3 separate regions of the Homo sapiens genome follow, and all the other regions are linked to region 2. Evidence: promoter capture Hi-C in human tissues and cell types (Jung and others, 2019). All regions are on one chromosome and are shown on one strand. The core of a region is centred on a gene start or on the middle of the fragment in contact, and the rest is flanking DNA. Distances in the headings are between cores, read along the strand shown.

Evidence for each region. Contacts are between HindIII fragments. The study calls those that stand out against the background at their distance.
Region 1: a contact is called between a fragment that was not itself captured here and the fragment with the promoter of DNMT3L in region 2, in 6 of the 25 tissues and cell types used here (H1 embryonic stem cells, IMR-90 fibroblasts, dorsolateral prefrontal cortex and 3 more).
Region 3: a contact is called between a fragment that was not itself captured here and the fragment with the promoter of DNMT3L in region 2, in 3 of the 25 tissues and cell types used here (dorsolateral prefrontal cortex, hippocampus and mesenchymal stem cells).

What each region holds. Positions count from the first base shown.
Region 1 is chr21:44,216,799-44,221,035 of GRCh38, reverse strand. It overlaps a transcript of ICOSLG not described here. Among named protein-coding and RNA genes, the nearest start is that of ICOSLG, 22 kb to the left of the region's middle. The HindIII fragment of the contact is 6,285 bases long and covers 1-4,237 here.
Region 2 is chr21:44,260,546-44,264,513 of GRCh38, reverse strand. DNMT3L (DNA methyltransferase 3 like) reads left to right here and starts at 2,617. Exons shown (of 12, transcript NM_175867.3): 1 at 2,617-2,774; 2 at 3,248-3,360; 3 at 3,675-3,719. The coding sequence starts at 3,255. RefSeq lists an enhancer at 2,343-2,902. The HindIII fragment of the contact is 12,940 bases long and covers 1-3,968 here.
Region 3 is chr21:44,195,947-44,200,016 of GRCh38, reverse strand. No RefSeq gene overlaps it. Among named protein-coding and RNA genes, the nearest start is that of LINC01678, 38 kb to the right of the region's middle. RefSeq lists a silencer at 2,776-2,954, an enhancer at 3,519-3,708 and cis regulatory regions at 3,331-3,831, 3,333-3,833, 3,334-3,834. The HindIII fragment of the contact is 3,712 bases long and covers 1-3,276 here.

The sequences.
Region 1 (4,237 bases), core at 1,489-3,988, 44 kb after region 2:
ATCTCTACAAAACTACAAAAAAGTTAGCCAGGCATGATGGTGGGTGCCTGTCATCCCAGCTACTCGGGAGGCTGAGGCAGGAGAATCATGGTGGCTGCTGAGGCAGCAGAACAAGGCTGTTCTGCTCTGCGGTTTGTGGGTTTGACACTCGTGGCCCAGGAGGCGGAGGTTGCAGCGCAGTGCAGTGGCCGAGATCGCGCCACGAGCCTGGGCAACAGAGCAAGACTCCATCTGAAAAAAAAAAAAGTATCAACGATGAAATTATCGACGATGGGGTAACCCCGGGAACCTCTCTGCCTCCACCGTGAAGAAGCATCAAGCAGAACCCGGCTGTGTGCAAGGGAGTCACATGCCTTCGGAAGAGCCCAGGTCTGGGCACAGCTGCCTGCTCAGACCAGAGGGAGGCCTGCCATGCCCCAGGAAGGCACTGGCTTGGAGTTTTTCTTCATTGTGAAGAATCACGATGACGAATTAGAATCAGTGAGTTTGGCACGAATGAGGTGCTTCCTCCAGGACGTTGCTGGAGGGCGCTGCTATAGCTGGCATCCCGGCCTGGAGGCACTTCCCCTCTCATTCTTCTCAGGAGTCAGTCCTGACTGAGACCTGCTCCCAGGGCAGGACTCTGGGCTTCAGGAGCGTGGTCCTGAGCCGCAGGGACATGGTGGCTGGTCTGCAACAGGCTTCCCATCCCGTGGACATGTGGACACTCCAGAGCCCTGGAATTTCAGCAACATCAGCCAACGGCCACAGGGACAACCACAGTAAAGCCAGCCTGCCAGCAGAAAAGTAACAGACTGAGCTAAAATCACCTCTGGAACTTCCTGTCTACCTGGACACCTGTCTACAGGGCCTGAGAGAGGAACTGACACTTTCTCCTCCAGCAGAGCCATGTCAGGAAGGAGCCTCTCCGGCAAAGGCTGCCCAGGCCCACCCGGACTCCACTCAGAGCCTGAGCCCTTGGTTCCCGTGAAGCTCTGAGGGCAGGTTGGCAGCCACAACACTGGGCCAGGACCCAAGATGGGGCAGGCCAGGCCCTCCACCAAGGGCCCAGACCCTCTATGCAAATGCAGGCCATGCCTGTGTGCAGCCAGGGGCCCCTGGGAGAATGCAGTGAGGAAGGGCAGGTGGATGTGCTTGGACTGAGACAGAAAGCTCCAGGGTGACGCTTGCCATGAGCGTGGGCACGACCCTCCTCCTCTTCCTCCTCCTCCTCCTCCTCTTCCTCCTCCTCCTCCTCTTCCTCCTCCTCCTCTTTCTTTTCCTTCTCTTCCAGGCACTTCCCCTGCAGCTGCAGTGGGAGGTGTTTCCAGATGCTGGAATGTGCTCCTGGGGCAGCAGCTCCCTGCCTGCTGGAGTCTCCTGGGCTCCTCTGCTGGGCTGTGCACACAGCACTGATCTTAGGGCACAGCCGGTGGGGAGGCCACACAGGGGAATCCTCCTGTGGCACTGGGGATAAAGGTCCTGTCTTCCAGCCGGGGGCAACTCCATCCAGTGTGGCCTAAGGCAAAACTTGGAATCCATGTTGACTGATTTTTGAGATGGTGTTTTGCGAACAGTAAAGGGATAGGCAAAGTTCTTGTTGTAAGCCACTCAGGCACCCTCCTGACAGAAGCCTGGGGATTCCGGAGGTAAAAGCTGTAAGGTTGGGAGTGGACCCTGGAGCCCACTCCCCCGACCCCCGACCCTCAATGAGGTTCTTTAGAAGACTGTGCCCTGGGGCTGCCCACACAGCCAGGCACTCTAGGGCCTGGGAAGACACTGCTCTCCCGTGCATGTCGGGGACACAGGCTTTCGTCCTCAGCAGTTGTGCAGGTCAGGTGGGGACTCAGGGAAGGCAGCCGGGCTGGGTGAGAGCTTAGACAGAGACAATGACCAGCCACAAGATGCAGTTAAACAAATACACAAACCTGCTTTCCAATGGTTTACAATGGATTCTGAACAGCCCGGGGCCCCAGAACAGCTAGATTCCTCACTCCTCTCCATTCTCAGGCCAACCTGTGGTCTCATTTTATAAAAAAGAGATTGGGCTGGTTTACTCAGCCAAGAAACATCGAAGAGATGGTACCTAAAACCAAGGGCTTTGGATCATCTGTCTGGCCCAGGGCGTCCCACCTCCCTGCCTCTGACAGGACTTCCCACCTCCCCGCCTCTGACTTCAGTTGGGAAGAGGATGGTGGCGGGAGATGGAGGATGAGGCCCTCCTCATCTGCTTGGCCAAGGCTGTTCTGCTCTGCGGTTTGTGGGTTTGACACTCGTGGCCTTGAAAGCAAGCCTCCCGGCCCAGCCTCCATCTTCCTGACAGTAGTGCTGCCTGTGAGTATTTGCATGGCACGGCAAAGTCACAGCTCAGCAGACACTCCTGATAACACTCTTAACAACACCATGCACAGGGGAGGGTGAGCACACTGCCCTTCTGGAGACCAGGAAACTCCCCGAAGCCTCAGGGTGATTGACCTGCCCCTGCCACGCCCCTAATAGCTCCATCTTCTCACTCCACCTTCCTGCCTCTTTCTGAGTCGTGGTTCCAGGTGCCTGCCTGCCCTGGGTGAGTGAAGCCACCAGTACACACCCAGTCACATTAGAACTGCCCAGTTCCATCCCAGGCCAGTGTAAACCAAAAATAAAACCCGAAGTCCCCAGCCAACTGAAGTGACCCCCGCTTGGCCATGTCCACCCCAGAGAAGCCTGAAAAACCTCCTCCTGGGTGGTCGCACAGGCCTCGTTATGTCACCGAGCAGCTCAGCTTCGAACTGTGTTTTAACACGGCCTTTCTTTCCTCCTTTCTCCCCAGTCTCAAGACATGGCTTTGAGCAAACTACAGATGTGCTTCCTTTCATCTTGAAATCCAGCCTGGGAGCAAGCTGTGAGCCTACTGCCTTCCCTCTCCCACCTGCAGCTCCCGGGCCCTGTGCACATTTGTTTATCTGGATGCTTGCTGAGTGCACACCATGCTCACCTGTCTGGTCATCTATTTCCTAGAAGCTTTGGGGGCCAGATCCTGGGACGAACCAGGCATCTCCAGAATTCCTTCCCCAGCAGGCGGGTTACTTTGAGGCCAGAGCTTACTCCTGGCTAAAGACTCACTGCAAGATTGACTGTGATTGATTTCTAATCTGGGGGCGACCCGCGATGGCGCAGCCCCTTCACCAGATGTGTTTGTGGTGGAAGTTATCCAAGTGACACGGCACCAAAACCTGTGATCGGTGGCAAATCCGTACAGGTCTGCGGCAGCCGCAATTCTCACCTCCTCAGAAGAAAGAATTCGACCAAGGGGCAGAAGGCAGAAGAAGAGACCGAGACAAGTTTTAGAGCAGGAGTGACATTTATTAAAAAGCTTTAGAGCAGGAATGAAAGGAAGGAAAGGACGCTTGGAAGGGGGCCAAGCAGGTGACTTGAAGGACAGGTGTGTGGTTTGACCTTCGACTTGGGGTTTTATATGTTGGCACGCTTCCGGGGTCTGGCCTGCCTTCTCCCCTGATTCTTCCCTTGGGGTGGGCTGTCCACATGTGCAGTGGCTGCCAGCCCTTGGGAGGAGCACGCGCTATGTGTTTACTGGAGTTGCGCGCCTGCTTACCTGAGGCGTTGTTCCCTTACCTGTCAAATGTCCCTAGGAGGCCATAGACCAGTTACACTCCACAATTTTGCCTTTTAATACACATGCTTGAGCCCACTCACCCAATGCCTGAGGTCTTATGGGGAAGGATTTTTCTGTCTGTTGGGAGGCTGCCTTTCCCTGGCGTTGGCTGTGACCAATTATTATTTTAGAGAGACAGTTAACAGCCACCCGACCAACACTGATGGTCGCCTGACATTCCTGGTTGGGAGGGCCCTCTCCTGCCCTGCTCATGTCTGACCAGCTGCCTACTGTAACAGATGGAACAATAACTCAAGAGAAGCCATCAGAGCAGGTCACCTGGCACCTCCTGGCCCCTGCCTCGCCTGCATTCCAGACCCCCTCTACACGTCCCTCTACAAATTGAAGAGTGGCCATTTTTGGAAAGGATTCCGGCCAATCTCCCCCTTGCTAGCATGAGAATGAAGCTCACGCTCTTTCTTTTTTCTTTCTTTTCTTTTTTTTTTTGAGACGGAGTCTCGCTCTGTCACCCCGGCTGGAGTGTAGTGGCGTGATCTCGGCTCACTGCAAGCTCCGCCTCCCGGGTTCACACCATTCTTCTGCCTCAGCCTCCTGAGTAGCTGGGACTACAGGCGCCCGCCACCGCGCCCGGCTAATTTTTTG
Region 2 (3,968 bases), core at 1,368-3,867:
ATTGCACTCCAGCCTGGCAACAGAGCGAGACTCTGTCTCAAAAAAAAAAGAAAAAGAAAAAGAAAAACAGGCCGGGTGCGGTGGCTCACGCCTGTAATCCTAGCACTTTGGGAGGCCGAGGCGGGTGGATCATGAGGTCGGGAGATCGAGACCATCCTGGCTAACACGGTGAAACCCCATCTCTACTAAAAAAAAAAAATATATACAAAAAATTAGCCGGGCATGGTGGCGGGCGCCTGTAGTCCCAGCTACTCGGGAGACTGAGGCAGGAGAATGGCGTGAACCCGGAAGGCAGAGCTTGCGGTGAGCCGAGATGGCGCCACTGCACTCCAGCCTGTGCGACAGAGCGAGATTCCATCTCAAAAAAAAAAAAAAAAAGAAAAAGAAAAAAGAAAACTGCCCCTCCTTGGAGCCAAAACCAGCCCCCAGGAATTCTCCCCTTTCCACTTGTGCTGGTGGGAACAGCCCTGCAGGGCAGGGGAGGTTGGGTGTGGGGCTGGGGTCAGGGGACAGATGGGCCTGCTGCTCCCGCTGTCTCCTTCTAATCACTTTCAATCCCGTGAGCTCCTGAAAAACAAAGCTCTTTGGAATAAAAGGAGGAGAAAACAAGATCATTTTACTCAAACACAGGGAAGTGATCTCACTGTCATCCTCAGTATTCTCTCCCTTCACTTTTTTTCATTAAAAAAAGTAACTATGTTAGAACAGCTTTAAAGTTATACAAACCTTGAGGCGCTAGTCCAGAACTGCCGCAACCCCCACCCAGCCCTCAGGCCCCCATGGACACTGTGGTTACATGAACAAACCTGCAGACACACCAACTTAGAGCCAAGGAGCCACATTTTATTCAGATTTCCCACTCCCTACCGCCCCTCTCTGTCCCGGGATCCCATGTGACACTTCATTGTCGCAGTGCCTCAGGGTCCCCCCGCCCCCTGCCCCGCTGTTTTTCAGACTCTCCCGCTGGGCGGCCTGACTGCCCCAGTGAGGAGGGCTCAGGCACTGGGCCGCCTCTGCTCCGACCCAGTTCACTCCTGGAGAGGCTGGGCTGTGGGTGGGGGGAGAAAGCCCCGGTGCGGGGCACCCACCCAGGCGAATCCTCCCCGAGACGCTGGCCTGGGCCAGGGGCCAAGGGGTCATCAGGCTGCCCCTGTGTGGTCACCCCTCATGCAGTACTTGCAGAAGGAAGTCACCAGGCCCAGCCCACACTTCAGGGGGGTTACCTCCCGCAAGGGTCTTCTCCCACTTTCGACCAGCACAATTGTCCTGTGGCTCCAGCCCTGCCCGGCGGTCCTCCGCCCCCTGCTCTGAAGCCCCTAACCTCCCTCCAACAAAGTCCCCCTTCCCAACCCACCCCGCACCTCCCACACTGCCCCTCTGCCCACCCCACCTTCCTGCTCCCTTCCCTGCTTCCACGTTCCACCCCCACCCTGAACCTACCCCTCCCAGCTCCCCAACCCCCCACCTGCCCTGACATTCCCCACCCAACACCCCTTACCCCATCCTCCAGGGCCTTCCCTGTTTCCTTCTCTCCCCCACAGCTGCCCCCCAAACCTGGGGCTCCAGACTGAGCTCCCAAGCCCGGCTCCTGAACGCCCCTCCCTCTATCCCGCCAGAGGACCACCTCCCCTGAACACCCCCATCTCCTCCTCACCATCTACCCCCACCCCCACTCCCATCCCAACCGACCCTGAGATCCCTGAGGCCCATCCCCACCCCATTCTCACCCCTATCCTGCCCTAAAGGCCACCTCCCCTGAAACCCCCATCCTCGGCCTCACACCCCCATTCCTACTTTCACCCCGTCTCTACCCTTGCCCTGAGCCCCGACCCCCGCCACTGAGCCCTGCCCCGGAGTGCCCACCCTCACCCTATCATCACCCCCATCCCGCCAAAGGACCACCTCCCCTGAAGGCCCCCATCTCCAACTCAGCATCCACCCCCACCCCCACTCCCTAATCCCCCAACAGATCTCCCTAAGCCCCGCCCTCCACCCACCCACCCTGCCCTGAGGGCCACCTCCACTAATCCTCACCCATCTCCACCCAGGGGGCCAACTCCACCTAACCCCCCGCCCTGCCCTACCTCCACCCTCCACCCTCCACCCTCCACCCCTCCACCCCTCCACCCTCCACCCTCATCCCTTTCTTCACCCTTGCCCTGAAGCCCACCCCTATGACCTTCCTAAACCCCACCTCTGAGCGCCCTGCCCCTACCCCACAGCCACCCCTATCCCCCACCCCACCCCAAGGGCCCCCCTCTACTGAAACCCCCCTCATCTGCCCCATCCCCAGTCCTCCCATCTCCACCCCTCCCCTGAACCCCACTCCCCACTGAGGTCCCCAAACCCCACCCCTCACTCCACCCTGAGGGCCCCATCCTCTGAACCCCAATCCCCCAGCCCCACTGAGCTCTTAACCCTCCCCACCTGAGGGTTCCCTTTCCCTGCCCGTCCCCCAGCTTCCTAGCTCCCCACCCCAAGTGACCCCCCGCAGCTCCTCGCCCCTCCCACTGCAAACCGGCACTGAAGGGCTGCCCCGCCCCCGCCCCTCCCCGCCCCCGCGGGACACGCCCAGATTCTTTGCCCCCATAGCCTGGTGACCTCTGGCCACCCGCTGTCCCAGGTGGGCCTGGATCCTTCCAGCTCATTCTTTGCCTGCGCCGTCCCTCGTTCCATGGCCCAGTCCTCCCCGGGGACCCTGAGCCTGGAAGCCCCGGACCACTGGAACCTTGAACCCACCAGCTGGCTGTACCCGGAGCCGTGGCAGCAGCCCTGTGAGTCTCTTTCCTACTCCCTGACCATGCTGCCTTCAAGGGTGCGGCTGGCCAAGACCATCCCCAGGGGTCCCTGCTGGGCCTGAGGGACACTGTAGGAGGCTGGGGCATGGGAGTCCCTGAGGGGTCGAAGGCTGGGCCCAGAGGAAAGCAGGGGCTGCAGCGGCCATTGGCCCCAGGTCCTCATGAGGGCCCTGCCCTCCCCTTTTTGCCCCATCTTCCATGTTGTAACAGGGCCAGGCAGGTGGGGGGCACGCCTCAGGGGACCCTTGAGCCCCTCTCAGGGCTGGCACTGGCCTTGGCTGTCCTGCCCCTCATCCCTGGGTTGGGCAGGTGGGTGTCACCGCGGGGGTTCAGGTGGCCTGAACTAGTCAAGGTCTGCTCAGCAAGCTGCTTCCCGTGCTGGGGTGCATCAGGGATCTGAGCAGGGGCTGACGGCTTTCTCACATCTGTGTCCGTGTGTCCTGACACAGCATCCCCATGGCGGCCATCCCAGCCCTGGACCCAGAGGCCGAGCCCAGCATGGACGTGATTTTGGTGGGATCCAGTGAGCTCTCAAGCTCCGTTTCACCCGGGACAGGCAGAGGTGAGGGCTCATCTGCTTATTGGACCAGTCACTTAGGATGCTGATCCCAGGCCTGGATGAGGTCTGGAGTTCCAGGCTTCTGGAGTATTCATGCATTATTCAGGCACCCGGGCTGGGGCAGGAGGTTCCCCACCCACAGTCTTCCCCCAGGTATGGGCGTTTAACACACCAAGATAAGGTGTGAGGGCGGGATGGCAGGGGACCTCAGGCTCCTGTGACTTTGGAAAACGAATTGTGATGCTCACTTCCTGGCCGAATTTAAATTAAGAGATCAGAGGAAGAAGAAAGGGGCTACTTCTTATCTTCCTTTCCAGATCTTATTGCATATGAAGTCAAGGCTAACCAGCGAAATATAGAAGGTGAGTGTTTGCATACTGGCCCACACCAGACAAAAGAGACGGGGCACAGTGGCTCACACCTATAATCCCAGCACTTTGGGAGACCAATGTGGGAGGATCATTTGAGCCCAGGAGTTTGAGACCAGCCTAGGCAACATAGTGAGACTCTGTCTCTACAAAAAAATAAAAATAAAAATTAACCAGGCATGGTGGCATGCACCTGTAGTCCCAGCTACTCAGGAGGCTGAGTTGGGAGGATTGCTTGAGCTG
Region 3 (4,070 bases), core at 171-2,670, 63 kb after region 2:
AGGGAGGGTTCTCCTGCATGAATTACTGATAGCAAGAGCTATTGATACGGCTCCAATGACTGGAGGAACATCACGGTCCTTGGTCCTCCGCCGATTTAGATAAAACGACATGGACACATGTGGAGTGGTTTTAAGGAGCAGAAAGTTTAATAGGCAAGGAAGAAGGAATAAAGAATAAAACAGCTCCCCTATACAGAGACGCAGTGGGGCTCAGAGCAAAGAGGCCCCGCATGCCGCAGAAGGGCATTCCACGATAGCGGGAGGCTGGAGGAGGCGGTGTCTGGTTTGCATAGGGGGCAGGGAATTGGTTTGACCGGGTGTATCATTCACGTAGTCCATGAGAAACCTGGCCCTCCCACCTTAGTCCTTTAATATGCAAATGTGGGTTGCCATGACGTTTTGAACACATGGTGTTATGTGGGGGCGGCCATGACACCTGGCACACCTGTCGACAAGAAGATGTGGGAATCGCCATGTTGGGTAGACCCAGTGTCTATTTGCCGGCGTTTGCATATCAAAGCTTGCTGGTCTGGCTCTTTAAGCCGCCTTTCTGTTAGTTTCCACCTAGAACCTTTACCCTATCCAGCTGCCTAAAAATTATTTCTTTTTTTTCTTTTTTTTAAAGACACAGTCTCACTCTTGTCCCCCAGGCTGGAGTGCAATGGCGTGATCTTGACTCACTGCAACCTCCGCCTCCCGGGTTCAAGCGATTCTCCTGCCTCAGCTTCCGGAGTAGCTGGGATTACAGGCACCCGCCACCACGCCCGGCTAATTTTTGTATTTTTAGTAGAGATGGGGTTTCACCATGTTGGCCAGGCTGGTCTCGAACTCCTGATCTCAGGTGATCTGCCTGCCTTGGCCTCCCAAAGTGCTGGGATTACAGGCGTGCGCCACCGCACCCGGCATAAAAATTATTTCTTAATAACTCTTGTATTACTATCACAAAATACTGAGAAACCACAACGCTGTATGAAGTCCACTGCAACCATGGACAGAAAATACTGTGAGGACATCTGCCCAGCAACTGCGGTCCAACCCTGGACTGGCACCCCCCGCCGCTGATGCTTGTAGACAAGGGGAATCGCCTCAAAACAACGGTGTGATCCTCGTTTTCCCTTTAAAAGCCTTTTTCTCCCTTTACCTCCCTGAACACACACAGTCTACCACCGCACGTGTGTTCCGACTGCAACGCCCTATTTTTGAATAAATGTCGTTTTCTTTCACAGAGCCTCTCTGTTATCTAAGTTGACAAATGTAATCATAGCACAACAGTGGTCTCTGTTGTAATCCATATTTATTCAATTTCAACGGCATACACACTGTGGAGTAAAAGCCATGACAAGGAGGCAGGGCGTGGGGCTCATGCCTGTAATCGCAGCACTTTGGGAGGCCAAGGTGGGTGGATCACTTGAGGACAGGAGTTCGAGACCAGCCTGGCCAACATGGTGAAACCCCGTCTCTACCAAAAATACAAAAATTAGCTGGGCATGGTGGCGCGCATCTGTAATCCCAGCTACATAGGAGGCTGAGGCAAGGGAATTGCTTGAAGCCAGGAAGCAGAGGGCGCGGCGAGGCTGAGACTGTGCCATTGCACTCCAGCATGGGCGACAGAGTGAGACTCCATTTCCAAAAGAAAAATCATGGCCGGGCATGGTGGCTCACACCTGTAATCCCAGCACTTTGGGAGGCTGAGGCAGGCGGATCACGAGGTCAGGAGATCGAGACTATCCTGGCTAACAGGGTGAAACCCCATCTCTACTAAAAATATGAAAAAATTAGCCGGGCATGGTGGCGGGCGCCTGTAGTCCCAGCTACTCGGGAGGCTGAGGCGGGAGAATGGTGTGAACCCGGGAGGCGGAGCTTGCAGTGAGCCGAGGTTGTGCCACTGCACTCCAGCCTGGGCGACAGAGCGAGACTCCGTCTCAAAAAAAAAAAAAAAAGAAAAAAGAAAAAAGAAAAATCATGACATTGAGAGGATTGGGGGAGGAAATGTGGTTGTAAAAGGGTTAAAATGTAACCATTTGTCGCAGGAAGCCAACGCATAAAGTCTAAAATGATAAACCAAGAAGCTGAGCGTGGACCCATTTTCCGTTCTGCTGCAGTGCTCCCTCCCCTCCCCGAGTCCTCGGTGGGCTGGCAGACGGGGCTCTGCCGTGGCCGACTCTTGGGGTCCCTGCAGTAAATCCAAGCGCCTCCAAGGACATCCGAGTGACCAGGGACTGGTGAGTTTTCTTTGAGTTGTAGGGCTGTGGCGGGCTGCCTAGAGGCCCCCGACATGGGCTCATTCTCCCTCCTTCTTCTCCGCCAAGAGAAGAGCCGTGATCCCCAGGAGGAATCCTGTGTGGAGTGTCTGTCTGGAGTTGGATCAGACAGTGATCCAGGGATTTCTTCTTCTTTGAACAGTGATGGCCCAAGGCCAATCCTTTCCTACAGAATCAGCCTTCCCAGTGTTGCCACGGTGGACGGCCTGAATTTATCATACGTGGCTCTTGCTGGTGACATTGCCACGTGTGGGAACTACTGTACATCAGATGCCTGCCCCAGCAGCCTGGCCGGTCTCAGAGCGAGACATGCTGCTCACCAGCCCTCCCGGTACCTCAGGGGCCAGAAGTGGACAATCGGCCCTGCGCCTGGACCGGCCATCCCTGGGCGGCAGGCCAGGACCTCCTCCACCAGGCCCGCATGCCGCTGGGACCATACATGAAGGGAAGGTCCCAGGAGGTGACGCTGTCGGAGCCGATGGCCTTGAGACTGGTGCCGGGCTGCAGAGAGAAACGCGTCCTCGGCAGACCTCGTCAGCGCTGACACAGACGCTTCATCATGGGAGCCTCGGCCACAGCTGTGCCCTAGGTGGTGATTATGAGAAGACCAATTCTAGGAAATTTGAGGAAGGAACAGCAAGTTCTCTTGATTAAACTATGAATGAATTTTAAAAGTCTGTAATCGGACAGTTTTCTTCCTTGGACGTTTCTGTGACTCTGGGAGCTGACTATATGGCTTCAAACCAACCCTGAGCCTCTACCCCAGGACAGAACGCAGGGCTCCCGGGTGAGTGCACCGAGCTGAAGGACCTGAGAGCGGTCCATTGCCAGGTGGCTCCATTAGGGGCATCTCACCTGAGGCTGCCTCCAGGGTAAGGCTCGGCCTCAGGGATGGAGAGTGGTGCTCACACTGGGGGCCCTGGATTCTATGGGCAGCAAAGCCGTGTGTGCTACATGAACAGGCCCAGCCAAGAGGTCCCCACCCACTCTGCATGACCGGGATCAGCTCATCGGTGCTTCAGGGCAGGATGACCCCACCTGCTCCCTGACAGACAGGTCTGGCCGTGGGTGATAAACCTGTGTAGGCTTCCAAGGCCTCAGCAGTGCATGTGTCTTGCTCCTGGAGGGGCCAGAGGAACAGGTGCTCTGTGTCCCTACCAGTAGGATGAGGACCGTCTCGGACAAACGTCCCTCAAGGCCTGTGTCCTCCCACCAGGAAGCCACAGACAAGGCTGAAGCTGGGCCTCCCACAGCCAAAGAGGAGCTGTCCTGGGACTGAAAAGAGGAAGCAAGCCCAGATCTCCACACCTCCCGCCCCGACTCTGGCGTCACTGAGGTGCCTGCCCCCGTGTCACGGCTGTGGCTGTTGTGCTGATGCAATCTCAACAGCAGAGAAGCACGCACATCCTGCAGGCCCACGTGGGCCCCCGACCTGGCAGATGGGGCCCTGGGAGACCAGCCCAGAGTGCCACTAGTGCCCTCCAGCCAGGCTCCAGCCACCCATCTCTTAGAACAGGGCCCTGCTCTCAGCACCAGGGGCATCTTTGTCCTGGGGCCATCCTGTGTGGTTAGGGTATTGAGCCGCACCCCGGCCTCCACCCTCCAGGTGCCCGTGGCACCTCTGCCCCAAGTCATGACAACCAAACATGTCTCCAGACACTGCCAGTGTCCCCTGAGGGGTAAAATTGCCCCTGGTTGAAAACGACCACTTTAGAATTGACATTTACTAACCCATCACCGTCAAATCTAAGGTTGAAAGGTGTGTGCATAAACACAGGGACCGAAATTCTCAACAAATGCCGTAAGTTG